Linked DNA regions of Homo sapiens: regions 1 and 3 are each linked to region 2. Evidence: promoter capture Hi-C in 16 types of primary human blood cells and fetal thymus (Javierre and others, 2016). All regions are on one chromosome and are shown on one strand. Each heading gives the region's core, a stretch centred on a gene start or on the middle of the fragment in contact. The rest is flanking DNA. Distances are from core to core; before and after follow the strand shown.

Region 1 (3,472 bases), core at 271-2,770, 320 kb after region 2:
ACCTCAACTGTGCTCCCATTGCCTGACAGCCATTCATTCATTCATTTGTTCATAAATTTGCCCATTCATTCAGTGATTTATTCACCTAGCAAATATCCATTTGATGTCTACTTTGTGCTTCCAAGATTTTCATTCACCATCCACGTAACTGTCCTCTCATGATTCTGTACACTCATTTCTCAGGTATTTAATGAGCATCTACTATGCACCACACACTGCAGTAGGTGCTGGGGTGCAGGTGGACAGCACAGACAAGAATCTCTGCCTGCTCAGCAATGGACACCTTAAAGGAAAAACATTCAAGTATCTTACATTGCAGTTATTATGTTTTTAAAATAGGGGAGCACCAAACAAGACATAAATTTTTTCTTACGGAATTATATAGCCCAGATGAGTTTACAAATGTAATCAAGTACAACCGTAAAATCAATGAAAATGTCAGTGTTCTGTGCCTATGTTCTGTCTTGCAGAGCGTGGACCCTCTGAAGTCAGTCCTTCCTCCACAGTTTCTGTCTGAAATCCTGCTCCACGTTGTGTTCGGCTTTCACGTGGCACACGCCTCTCCTTGCTGGACACGCCAGCCAGGCTTTGTCATTTCATCCTATCTTTTTTGTCAGCTCATGACAGTAACAGCAGTGTCACTCCAAAACAACCTTGGCATTCACACCAGCACCTATCTGGGCACCAAAATCTCGAGGTGACACTTGGCTTTGAGGCCAGCCTCCCACATCTTTCAGAGCATGCTCCATGAGTGACCTGAATCTGCCTGCTGACATCCTCAGGTGGAATATGCCACCAGGGTCCCTTCTCCAGCCCCACCACACTGCGGCCCACTCCTTCCAGGCACCCCGGAACACTGTCCGACAGCGCCGACCCACAGGATGTTCCAGGACCATGGAAGTGCTTTATGTCTGTGCTGTCTAATACAGGAGTTATTGAACATTAGAAATGTTGTTAGTGGGCTGGGGAACTGAACTTTTAATTGCATTTAGTTGTAGTTAATTTAAGTGTAAATCATCACTTGTGGCTCGTGGCTACCTTACTGGGTAGCTCTGGCTAGCTCTACGGGATCTAGGTCAGCCTTCTTAAAAAGATGGAAGAGGTTGGGTGTGATGGCTCACACCTGTAATCCCAGCACTTTGGGAGGCCGAGACAGGAGGATCACGAGGTCAGGAGTTCGAGACCAGCCTGGCCAACATGGAGAAACCCTGTCTCTAATAAAAATACAAAAATGAGCTGGGCGTGATGGTGGGTGCCTGTAATCCCAGTTACTTGGGAGGCTGAGGCAGAGAATTGCTTGAAACCGGGAGGCAGAGGTTGCAGTGAACCGAGATTGCGCCACTGCACTCCAGCCTGATGACAGAGGGAGACTCCATCTCAAAAAAAAAAAAAAAAAAAAAAAGAATCTCTTCAGCAAAATGAGTTCTTAATCATTTATACTGTTTTGTTTTGTTTTGTTTGAAGCCACGATTTATTCAGCACCCACCCTGTGCCAATCACTGTACAGGGTGCTGGGACCTGGGGATGACTAAGAGGATTTCTGCCTAAGTTCCTGGTTGGAATACTTACAGGGACTGACTCTCCCGGCCAAGGAGGGGTGGGGAACAGGAGGCCCGGAGCCAAGCCATGACCCTGGGTGGGTGCTGGCTTCCTTAGGTGGGTGCAGGGAGAAGGTGTCTGCTCGGGTCCAGAAGCACGCACATGTGAAACCACAGGGTGGGCTTAAGCAGCACGAAGGAGAGTGGAGGAGCCCGGTATGGCTGAGGCCAGGGAGGGTCTGGCAGCAGGATGAGGGTGGCAGGAGGCAGCCCCTGGAGGGCCCAAAACCCTGATTCTGTTTGGCTCCTGAGGAGCTTGGTCACTGTCCTATGGTGGCATGGAGTCCCGGAGTGTATGTGGAGGGCAAATGGGCAAGGTAGGAGGTTGTGGGTACCAGGCTGAGCACAGGAGAGAGGCCCGGGCTGGGACCGATCTGGGTGCCAACAGCGGGCATGGCAGAGCGGAGGGCAGTCGACGCAACAGGGGCTCCTGACAGATAACTGCCTGGCAGACGCGCCTCCCCGCAGCAGAGGAAAGGAGAGACAGAACCTCAGTGGTGTCAGAGGAGGACATGCAAGGCTGGAATGAGGCCCCTCCATGGTCGTGGAACTCTTGGGCCCCGACACCCCTATGGGCAGCCTTTGCTTGTTAGGCAGGGGCCTTGGGAGGAGGCGCAGACCCAGCTTCGGGGATGGGATCAGGCCCAGAAGAAACAGATGCCCACCTTCCCAGGCCTGTTTTTCATTCTGGTGCCACCATAAATTGCCTGGAGCAGCCCCCGCCCTCCCCCGGCCCCTGTTTTGCAGTCGGGGAGTATCAGTCATGATAAGACATTACTTAAAGCAGTGGTGACAGGGCCTAATCAGTCTTGTGAAATATAGACTTCTCCCCACACTGCGGGCAGGGCCAACATTAATACACATTTATGCAAAGCAAGAGCTGTAGCTGTCGGGTGCTAATCTTTACAAGTATGATAAATGATGTTTATTTTCAGTGATGGAACGAAACACCCCAGCCGACAGTAATTGTAATAAAAAGGACAGATCAACTTCTATAAAGTGATTGAATTACCCAACGATTACATTAATGTCCACACTCTGGTGTGTCACCAGCTTCCTCGAGGTTCTGAGGACAACGTGCAGGACAATTTCCCCTTCAAGTCACCACCTGCCCTTCACCCACCTGGGCTCCTGGGGCAGAGGTGGCTGCAGCTGGGAGTGATGCCATTGGTGGCCTCCAGACCAGACTGTTTTCATCTTGTGTGGAAGGAACCTAGGCTGGGCGGCTGGAAGTGGCCGGGCAGTAGGTGGGAGGGCTGGGGGGCGGCAGAGGGGGACCCTGCCTCGACCAGCCTTTTGGAACAGAAAATACATTCTTATGTCTAATTCTCCCCATAATGCTGAAGGCTAGCAGCTATTATTATACTCTTTTTGCAGGTCAGGAAGTGGAGGCTCAGGAAGGTTAAGTGGCTTGGCCAAGGTCACACAGCTAGTGTGTGTCCAAAGTCCAAAATGAGATTCCCTCCCGGAAGCATTTAATAGGGTGCTATGGAAGTGCCTGAGGGGACCCCTGGCTCCCAGCTCTTTCTCTGATGGTGACCAGGTGCCTGCCCAGCCCTGACAGTGGCCTGGAGGACCTGAGTACCAAGTGCCTCACTGTGGAGGCCTGCAGAGGTCTGGGTACCAGAAGGCCTGGACCAGAGACTCTGGGCATCCCCTTCCAACACCGCAGGCCAGCACAGTGTGCCGGGGGAAGTGCCTGGCCTTGGCAGGCTGATGGGCCTGGGTCTGAGTCTGTCTCTTGAGCCATTGGTCTCCTTATCTGTAAACTCAGGGTCAGAGAAGCAACTATCTCACAGAGGTGATGGCTGATCAGTGAGGGTTGGGGGGGTCCCTGCGAATCTCAGCTGGGTCCTCCCCAGGGTCAGACAGCT
Region 2 (3,340 bases), core at 582-3,081:
TCTAGGTCAAGAAGAAATTGTTGCTCCATCATATAAGTGAATGTCAGGAGGAGGAAGGAGGATCTTAAGGAATGAAGTTCTAATGCATCCTCTTTGATTAAAAAGTAAAAGAATAAAGTTAGCAGAGGATAAAAGGTATATGGAGAGAGCCACCCACAAAAAGGGTTGCACCGGTGAAATGGGCCTGTGTAGGTCACATCCCCTCAGGGAGGGTAGCATTGGGTCCCTTGCATTTCAAATAAAATGCAATTTTAGGAACAGGGGCTGAAGGGAGAGACACTTCCACCCACCTCAACAGGGCAATTTTTTAAAAATTTAATTTAATTAATTTATTTTTTTGAGACAGAGTCTCGCTCCATCACCCAGGCTGGAGTGCAGTGGCGCCATCATGGCTCACTGCAACCTCCATCTCCCAAGGGGTTTGAGAGATTCTCCAGCCTCAGTCTCCCAAGTAGCCGGGATTACAGGCGCGCGCTACTATCCCTGGCTAATTTTTTGTATTTTTAGTAGAGACGGGGTTTCACCATGTTGGCCAGGCTGGTCTTGAACTCCTGACCTCAGGTGATCCCCGTGCCTCGGCCTCCCAAAGTGCTAGGATTACAAGCGTGAGCCACCGCGCCCGGCCCAACAGGGCAAATTTAACTGAACTTACAGTACAACCACCCGAAGCTCTGGGAGGATGGCAGAGTGCTCTGACCTTAGACTAGTTACTTAACTTTTTAAAGCATCAGACTTCCCACCTGTAAAAACACGAGAAGAGAACCTTCCTTACAGAGCTGTGAAAGTCCAATAATACAAAGAAAATATAACATCACCTGGCACTTGGTAGAGTGTTCTACAAACGTTAGGAAGAATAAAACCAGAAATTCCCCCCAAGACCCTCTTCGGGTGAGGCCCAGGGGCCCTGGAGAGGGTGGCAGGCCCGGGGGTGTGGGGAGGACACTTTAGCCAGCTGCCCCCAATTCTCCTCCAAGCCTGGCGGCCCAGTTCCGGGCTGTGGTGTGGCTTGAGGGCCCAGGGCTCCTCACTGAGCTTGCTTAAGCAAGTTCTTTCACACACAGCCCCATATACACTTTGGCTAGAAAATTCAATGAGGAGTTTTTTCTTCCTTCTTTCTCTGTTGTTGTTGGGTTCTGATTACTTCCATCTGGCTTCAGCGGCTCGAGTGGAGTCTCTAAAACACACAACACAACAAAACAAAAACCCACCCTGCAAGCCACATGCACCAAACCTAGAAGGCTGCTTCGTTTCTCGCCAGCGTGTGCTCAGATGGCGACGAGGGCTAGCGGCGGCGGGGGACGCCTCAGGACCCCCGGCACCTGCGCTCGCTGCCCGCGGGAAGAGGGTCCGCGTGGACCCAGCCCCCGCGTCCCTTCTCTGGCGTCCCCGGCTTCCGCGCGGGCGTCCAGAGAAGCGGGCGCCCTGGGAACAGCGACCCAGGCATCTCCCCGAGGAGGGAAGTGGGAGGTGGGGAGGGCGGGGGGATTTCAGAGATTGAAAACAGAGCAGCCCTTGCCCCTCAGCTCCGGAGCTCATCTGACTTGAGTTAGCGACACCCCCAACCCCCCCCCCCACACCTAGTCGTCTAAAAAAAGTGTCGGAGATTGGCGCGTCCTTTGGTTCCTTTCTCGAACTTTCCTTGTAGGTGCGTTTTCTTTCCTTGGTGCTGGGTGGGGAGAGTCCCTGTGCTCCCCCTTTCCCCTCCCCCCGCCCCGGCGGCGTTCGGGTCCCCCTGCGTCCCCCGGCAGGGAGCGGGCGGGCTGGCTGGCGGGTTCTTGGGGCCCGGGTGTGCCCGCACCGTGCGCGCGGGGGCGCTGCGCAGTCCGGCGGCGCTGATGGATTGCAGAAGTGCCGGCGCTTGCCAGCCGAGGCAGCACGGCTCCGCGGACTTTTTTTCAAACTCCCATCAATGAGACTTCGAGGAGGAGCGGGCGGCGGCGGCGGCTGCGACTGCGAACGCGGAGGAAGGCCAGGAGCCGCAGGAGGAGCCGGAGGAAAGAGCTTGGGCCGCGCGGCGCGCCGCAGCCTCGGGGAGCCGCCTGCTCGCCGGCGGTAGGGGCTGCGCGGCGCCCGCCCGCCTCTCGGTCCCCTCTCTTGCCTGGCCCGCCCCGCCCCGGCTGGCTGGAGCCCCGGCACAAGGCAGCCAGCCGAGGGTCGCCGCGCCAGCCAAGGTGGGATGGGGGCCCACAGCCACCGCCCGGCGCCCGAGAGGCCACCTGCGTGCTAGAGGCAAACTTTTGTCTCTCTCGGTAAAGTTGCATTGGCCTTCTTTTGCTTGCTTTTCGTGACGAAGCGCCTCCCACCTCGGCCAAGCGCGGGCCGACTGGGATGCTGCGCCGTCTCGGGGGGTCCCTCGGCCGGGTACCGGCGCCTAGGCCTTGGGATCGGGGCCCTGGGCTTCGGGGGACTAGAGGCTAGTAGGCGCGACCCCGCCTGGGGCTCTGGACGAGCAGGGCGGGGACGTAAGGAGAGTCCTGGGGCTTGGAGCTCGTGGCCAGAGGTCGATGTTGCACCCTCTCCCTACCTGGGGGAGAGCACCACTCTTCTCGGGGTGCACAGCGAGCCGGCCTCCGCGCGCCGGCGGGGGTCTGTTTTTTCAGGGGGTGGAGGGTGGGATCGGAGGCTGGGATGCTCCGAAGCTGCCGTAGGTGGGCATGGGAGCGTGTCTGCGGGCGTACTGAGCGCGGAGGGGCTGCAGCCAGCCACTTGAGAACTTCGAACTCCACTTCTCCGCGCTGCGCGTCCCGGAGCCCTGCCTTTCTTTCTTCCTTCCTCAATCCTTCCTCCCCCTCGCCCGGCCCGGCCGCCCCCTCCCCCTCTGCTGGGCTCTCCTCCTCGGCCCCCCCTCTTTGCCTCTCTTCTCCTCCTCTCCTGCCCTCGGCCCTGAGATCCGCTTGACTTCCCAAAGGGATCCGCACGTAATCCTTTGCCGGGTCCTCCGGTTCCCCCTTCCACCTCACTTTCATCCCTGCCCCCCTACTCATCGTCTCTCCCCACCCCCGACAATCTCTCAACAAGTATATTTGCTGAGGAATTTGAAAAATCCACTACTGCAACTTGATCTGTATGTGATGGATGGGGAGAGGCGCGGAGAGAGTTGGGCGCCAATCCTATTAAGGGTTTAGAGAGGGGAGTCTTTTCCCCGGACGGGGCGGGGGCGGGGAGCTGGGAGGGAGCGTGTGCTTGCGTGTGTGAGTGTGAGCGCGCCCGCCGCGCTGGAGAGCTGGGAGTCCACCCAGCTCGGCGCCTTTTCAGCCCGGCGGTAACTGCTGTCATTTCCTAGGAAACCCGACTTTTACCGCGCGGGGAGCTGGGGATGGAGCCCGTGCGCCTCACCCTG
Region 3 (3,675 bases), core at 800-3,299, 360 kb after region 2:
GTAGGGACTGGTCAAACCGGAAAGTCCAACAATGTAAGGTGGTGGCTTTGAGTCACTCCCAGAGGGGCTGCAGGCTAGAGATGGAGACCAGCCTGTGCACCATCTGCCATGCTTACTCAATGAGGCCCAAGAAAAACTCTGGACACTGAGGCTCATGTGAGCCTCCCTGGTTGCCAGCACTCCTATGTTCTGCTACACATGGATGCTGGGAACAGGAGGCTGACCCAACAGGGAGGACCACAGCAGCTGTGCATGGGGTAGTCCCCAGACACCCCCTGTGGGCATCCTCCCTTGGCTGATGCTCATCTGCACCCAGAAGTATAAGATGAGTCTTGCTGGGTGTGGCGGCTCACACCTGTAATCCCAGCACTTTGGGAAGCTGAGGTGGGTGGATCGTGAGGTCAGGAGTTCGAGACCAGCCTGGCCAATATGGTGAAACCCTGTCTCTACTAAAAATACAAAAATTAGCTGGGTGTGGTGGCATGCACCTGTAGTCCCAGCTACTTGGGAGGCTGAGGCAGAAGAATCACTTGAACCCAGGAGGCAGAGAGGTTACAGTGAGCCGAGATCGCACCACTGCACTCTAGCCTGGGTGACAGAGCGAGACTCCATCTCAAAAAAAAAAAAAAAAAGGATGAGTCTAACAGCTTCCAGTTAGCTCTGTGAGTCTTTCTAGCAAGTTATCAAAACTGAGAGTGGTTGGGGGAACTAGTCTTTCCAACTTTGCAATTGGTATCAGAAGAGGTGGTCTTGGGAACCCCTAAAACTTGTAATTGGTGTTGGAAGTGAGCACGGTTTTCTGTGTGGGCTGTGTTCCCTCCAACTTCACAGTTGGTTAAACTCTTCACATGTGGCAAACATCTGAATATTTAAATATAAAATTAGGACTTCCACTTCTAGGCTAGATGTTCTGGGGAAAAAATAAACTCCACTACAAATACCTAGACCTGTTGATTGAAACTAAACAAACATCTTTTAAATGACTACCTGATTGTATAAGAAAGTAAGGAAACTCACAAAGGCCAAAACCGAAGAAGAGGCTGAAACCAGAATGAGAAATGACCCCTGATGCTGTGGGCTGCCCTAGAAGCACCTGGAAATATCTGAAACCTATAGTCACTGGTTTTAACAGCCATACAAAAGAGAGAAGGCAGGGCCCTGGGCCCATGCAGGCAAGATGGAGTGTCAGGACTTAGACTCTTGGAAAAGCTAGAATCCTTGAAGAGCTAACTCTTGGTAAAAAGGTGACATAGAAAAAGAAGCTAACAAGAAAGTGTGTCTATCCTGGCTTCAGCTTTGGGTTAAAAAAAGAGAAAGAGAGAAGGAGGAGGAGGAGGAGAAGGGGGAAGAGAAGGAAGAGGAAAAAGAAGAGAGATATTTCACTCTTCCTTCCCCCTGAAAATGTAAAGGCCATCCTCACGTGGATTTCGGGTCTGGATTTACACTCCCTGAAGAATATCCAAGCTGAGAAATATTTTAATATGTTTCCAAGATGGAAACAAGCACTCCAGGCCTCCTGACAGATCTCTCCAGAGGACTAACCCTCAGCCTAGGCCTGTCAGGATTCCCACAGACTGAGATCTGCAAAACATGAGTTCACCATAAAAATTGAGCCTGCACAAGAGAAACAATCCATCATGAGCAAGTGTCAGCAGGAGCAGCAGATGTCAGAATTAGACCACCAAAGATGTCACATTATGGGATTATCAGGAACAGGATTCAAAGTCATGTTTTCAATGTTTATGGGAGTAAAAGGGGAAATTAAACACACATGCAGGGAACATAAAAGTATCCAAGATGACCTAACAGATTTGACACCAAATACATCTCAAAATGAAATATATAATTATTAAACTTTTTTAAAGTAAAAAATGGCATAAACATCAGATTAGGCACATTTGCAAAGGAATTCATAAATTGAAAAAAAAAAGTTGAGAGAATCATCCATAAATGTAGCTCAGAAAGATAAAGAGATGGGAAATGAGTCAGAATTCCTCTCCTGCCCTTCTGGAGAAGAGCCGTGAGCTGGATCATGTCCCGCAGGCAGATATGGATGGAAGAACAGACACTGAGCTGGAGGAGGCAAGAGTGCTCCCTCTGCCCAAATGATGCCTCCCTCTGCCCAGCCCGTATCCTTGAGAGGGAATAGGGGATAATGGGGTTGGGGTGGGGGGCACAAGGCTGTTCTCTGGGATTTCAATATCATGCTTCCCCTTAAAATTCTCAGAATGGGCCAGGCACAGTGGCTCACACCTGTAATCTCAGCACTTTCAGAGGCCAAGTTGGGCGGATCACGAGGTCAGGAGTTTGAGACAAGCCTGACCAACATGGTGAAACCCCGTCTCTACTAAAAATACAAAAATAAGCAGGGGGTGGTGGCGCGTGCCTATAATCTCAGCTACTCAGGAGGCTGAGACAGGAGAATCGCTTGAACCCGGGAGGTAGAGGTTGCAGTGAGCCGAGATCGCACCACTGCACTCCAGCCTGGGCGACAGAGCAAGACTCCGTCTAAAAAAAAAAAAAAAATTCTCAGAACGTCCATCAGCCAGGAATTTTCCTCACCCTAAGCCTTTTGGGAAGAGATTCTGTTTCCAGTTTGTTCCCTGTGGGCAAAGCCTTTCCCCCTCTTGGATTCATCTGTGCAATAGCTGGATCTCTAAGGCCACTGCCAACTCTAATATTCTATTCTGTTATGACATCCTGCGGTGACAGGTACGATATGTGCCCCACTGACTCACCTCTATACTCAGGGCAAGTCAGAGATCCCGGGATGCTTAGGAAGAGCCCTGCCTGTCCAAAACACAGTTTCAGTGCACAGCCTGAAACTCCACAATTACAGAGTCATTTATCTGGAGGTAAACATCATCCTAATTAGATTCCAAATTGTTTTTTTCTCAGAGGGGCTGGGTAAAGGATAAAATTAAAGTCATCATCAGTCACAACACCTCCATGTGAGTTATTTTAACAGTCTTTTCAAAAACAAAGTCACAGCATGCGAGATGGATTTGACAGGAGGAGCAGAGGGGAAATGTGGTAGGTCAGTCACACCCCCAGGGACTGGGCCCTAGTCCCGAGCGTAGGAGAGGCGGAGCTGGAAGGTGAACCTTCCACAGCCTCGACCGTCCGTCCTCCCTCCAGCCTCTCCACAATTCAACACCTGCTGGCCAGCAGGCGGCAGTGCACGGACGAAAATGCGCATCTCTGCTGGATTTCCCAGGAGCTCCTGGAGTTCAAATGGCTTCTTTTTCTGGTAGCCTCAGTGCTCAGTGTGGAGAGGCAGGCTGCAGACAGCAGGGACAGTGGGATGTGGGATGCACTGCCCAAGCCTTTGTAAGTCCGACCCTGGTGGTGGCCCCAGAAGCCAGGCTGCTGGACTGGGAGGGCTGCCTGGAAGATGGGGCACCTTCAAGGCTTGTCCTGCCTGACTAAGGGTGAGGGGACATTTGAGGATGAAATGAGACGTCTGGAAGTGTCCCTAACCTTCCTGGGGCTGCCCCCCGTGAAGGTCAATGCTCGATGCGGGGGCTGGAGGGGGCAGACAGCTTCATGTGTCAGAGACCCTGGAGTGCAGGTGTAGCCCCTGAGCTCTGTCTGGGCACAGTGGCATGCTCATTGAGTGGAGAGGTGGCGTGGGTCCAGCTCAGCCTGGGGAACCAGTCTGAGGCCGGGTGACAG

The links. Contacts are between HindIII fragments. The CHiCAGO score rates a contact against its expected background, and 5 or more counts as called.
Region 1: a fragment that was not itself captured here is called in contact with the fragment with the promoter of GLI2 in region 2 in 5 of 17 cell types (erythroblasts, endothelial precursors, megakaryocytes and 2 more); the score reaches 10.9 in erythroblasts.
Region 3: a contact is called between a fragment that was not itself captured here and the fragment with the promoter of GLI2 in region 2, in 1 of 17 cell types (erythroblasts). The highest score is 5.5, in erythroblasts.

What each region holds. Positions count from the first base shown.
Region 1 is chr2:121,056,634-121,060,105 of GRCh38, forward strand. It overlaps LOC105373587 (a long non-coding RNA gene), which reads left to right. Exons shown (of 4, transcript XR_923267.2): 4 at 471-1,151. Among named protein-coding and RNA genes, the nearest start is that of TFCP2L1, 230 kb to the right of the region's middle. The HindIII fragment of the contact is 5,028 bases long and covers 1-3,472 here.
Region 2 is chr2:120,734,037-120,737,376 of GRCh38, forward strand. GLI2 (GLI family zinc finger 2) reads left to right here and starts at 1,832. Exons shown (of 14, transcript NM_001374353.1): 1 at 1,832-2,249. It overlaps LOC124906073 (a long non-coding RNA gene), which reads left to right. Exons shown (of 3, transcript XR_007087219.1): 3 at 6-814. It overlaps LOC124907881 (a long non-coding RNA gene), which reads right to left. Exons shown (of 2, transcript XR_007087221.1): 1 at 2,525-3,340. RefSeq lists enhancers at 461-1,108, 1,748-1,917, 3,036-3,340. The HindIII fragment of the contact is 6,148 bases long and covers 1-3,340 here.
Region 3 is chr2:121,092,291-121,095,965 of GRCh38, forward strand. No RefSeq gene overlaps it. Among named protein-coding and RNA genes, the nearest start is that of TFCP2L1, 190 kb to the right of the region's middle. The HindIII fragment of the contact is 5,076 bases long and covers 1-3,675 here.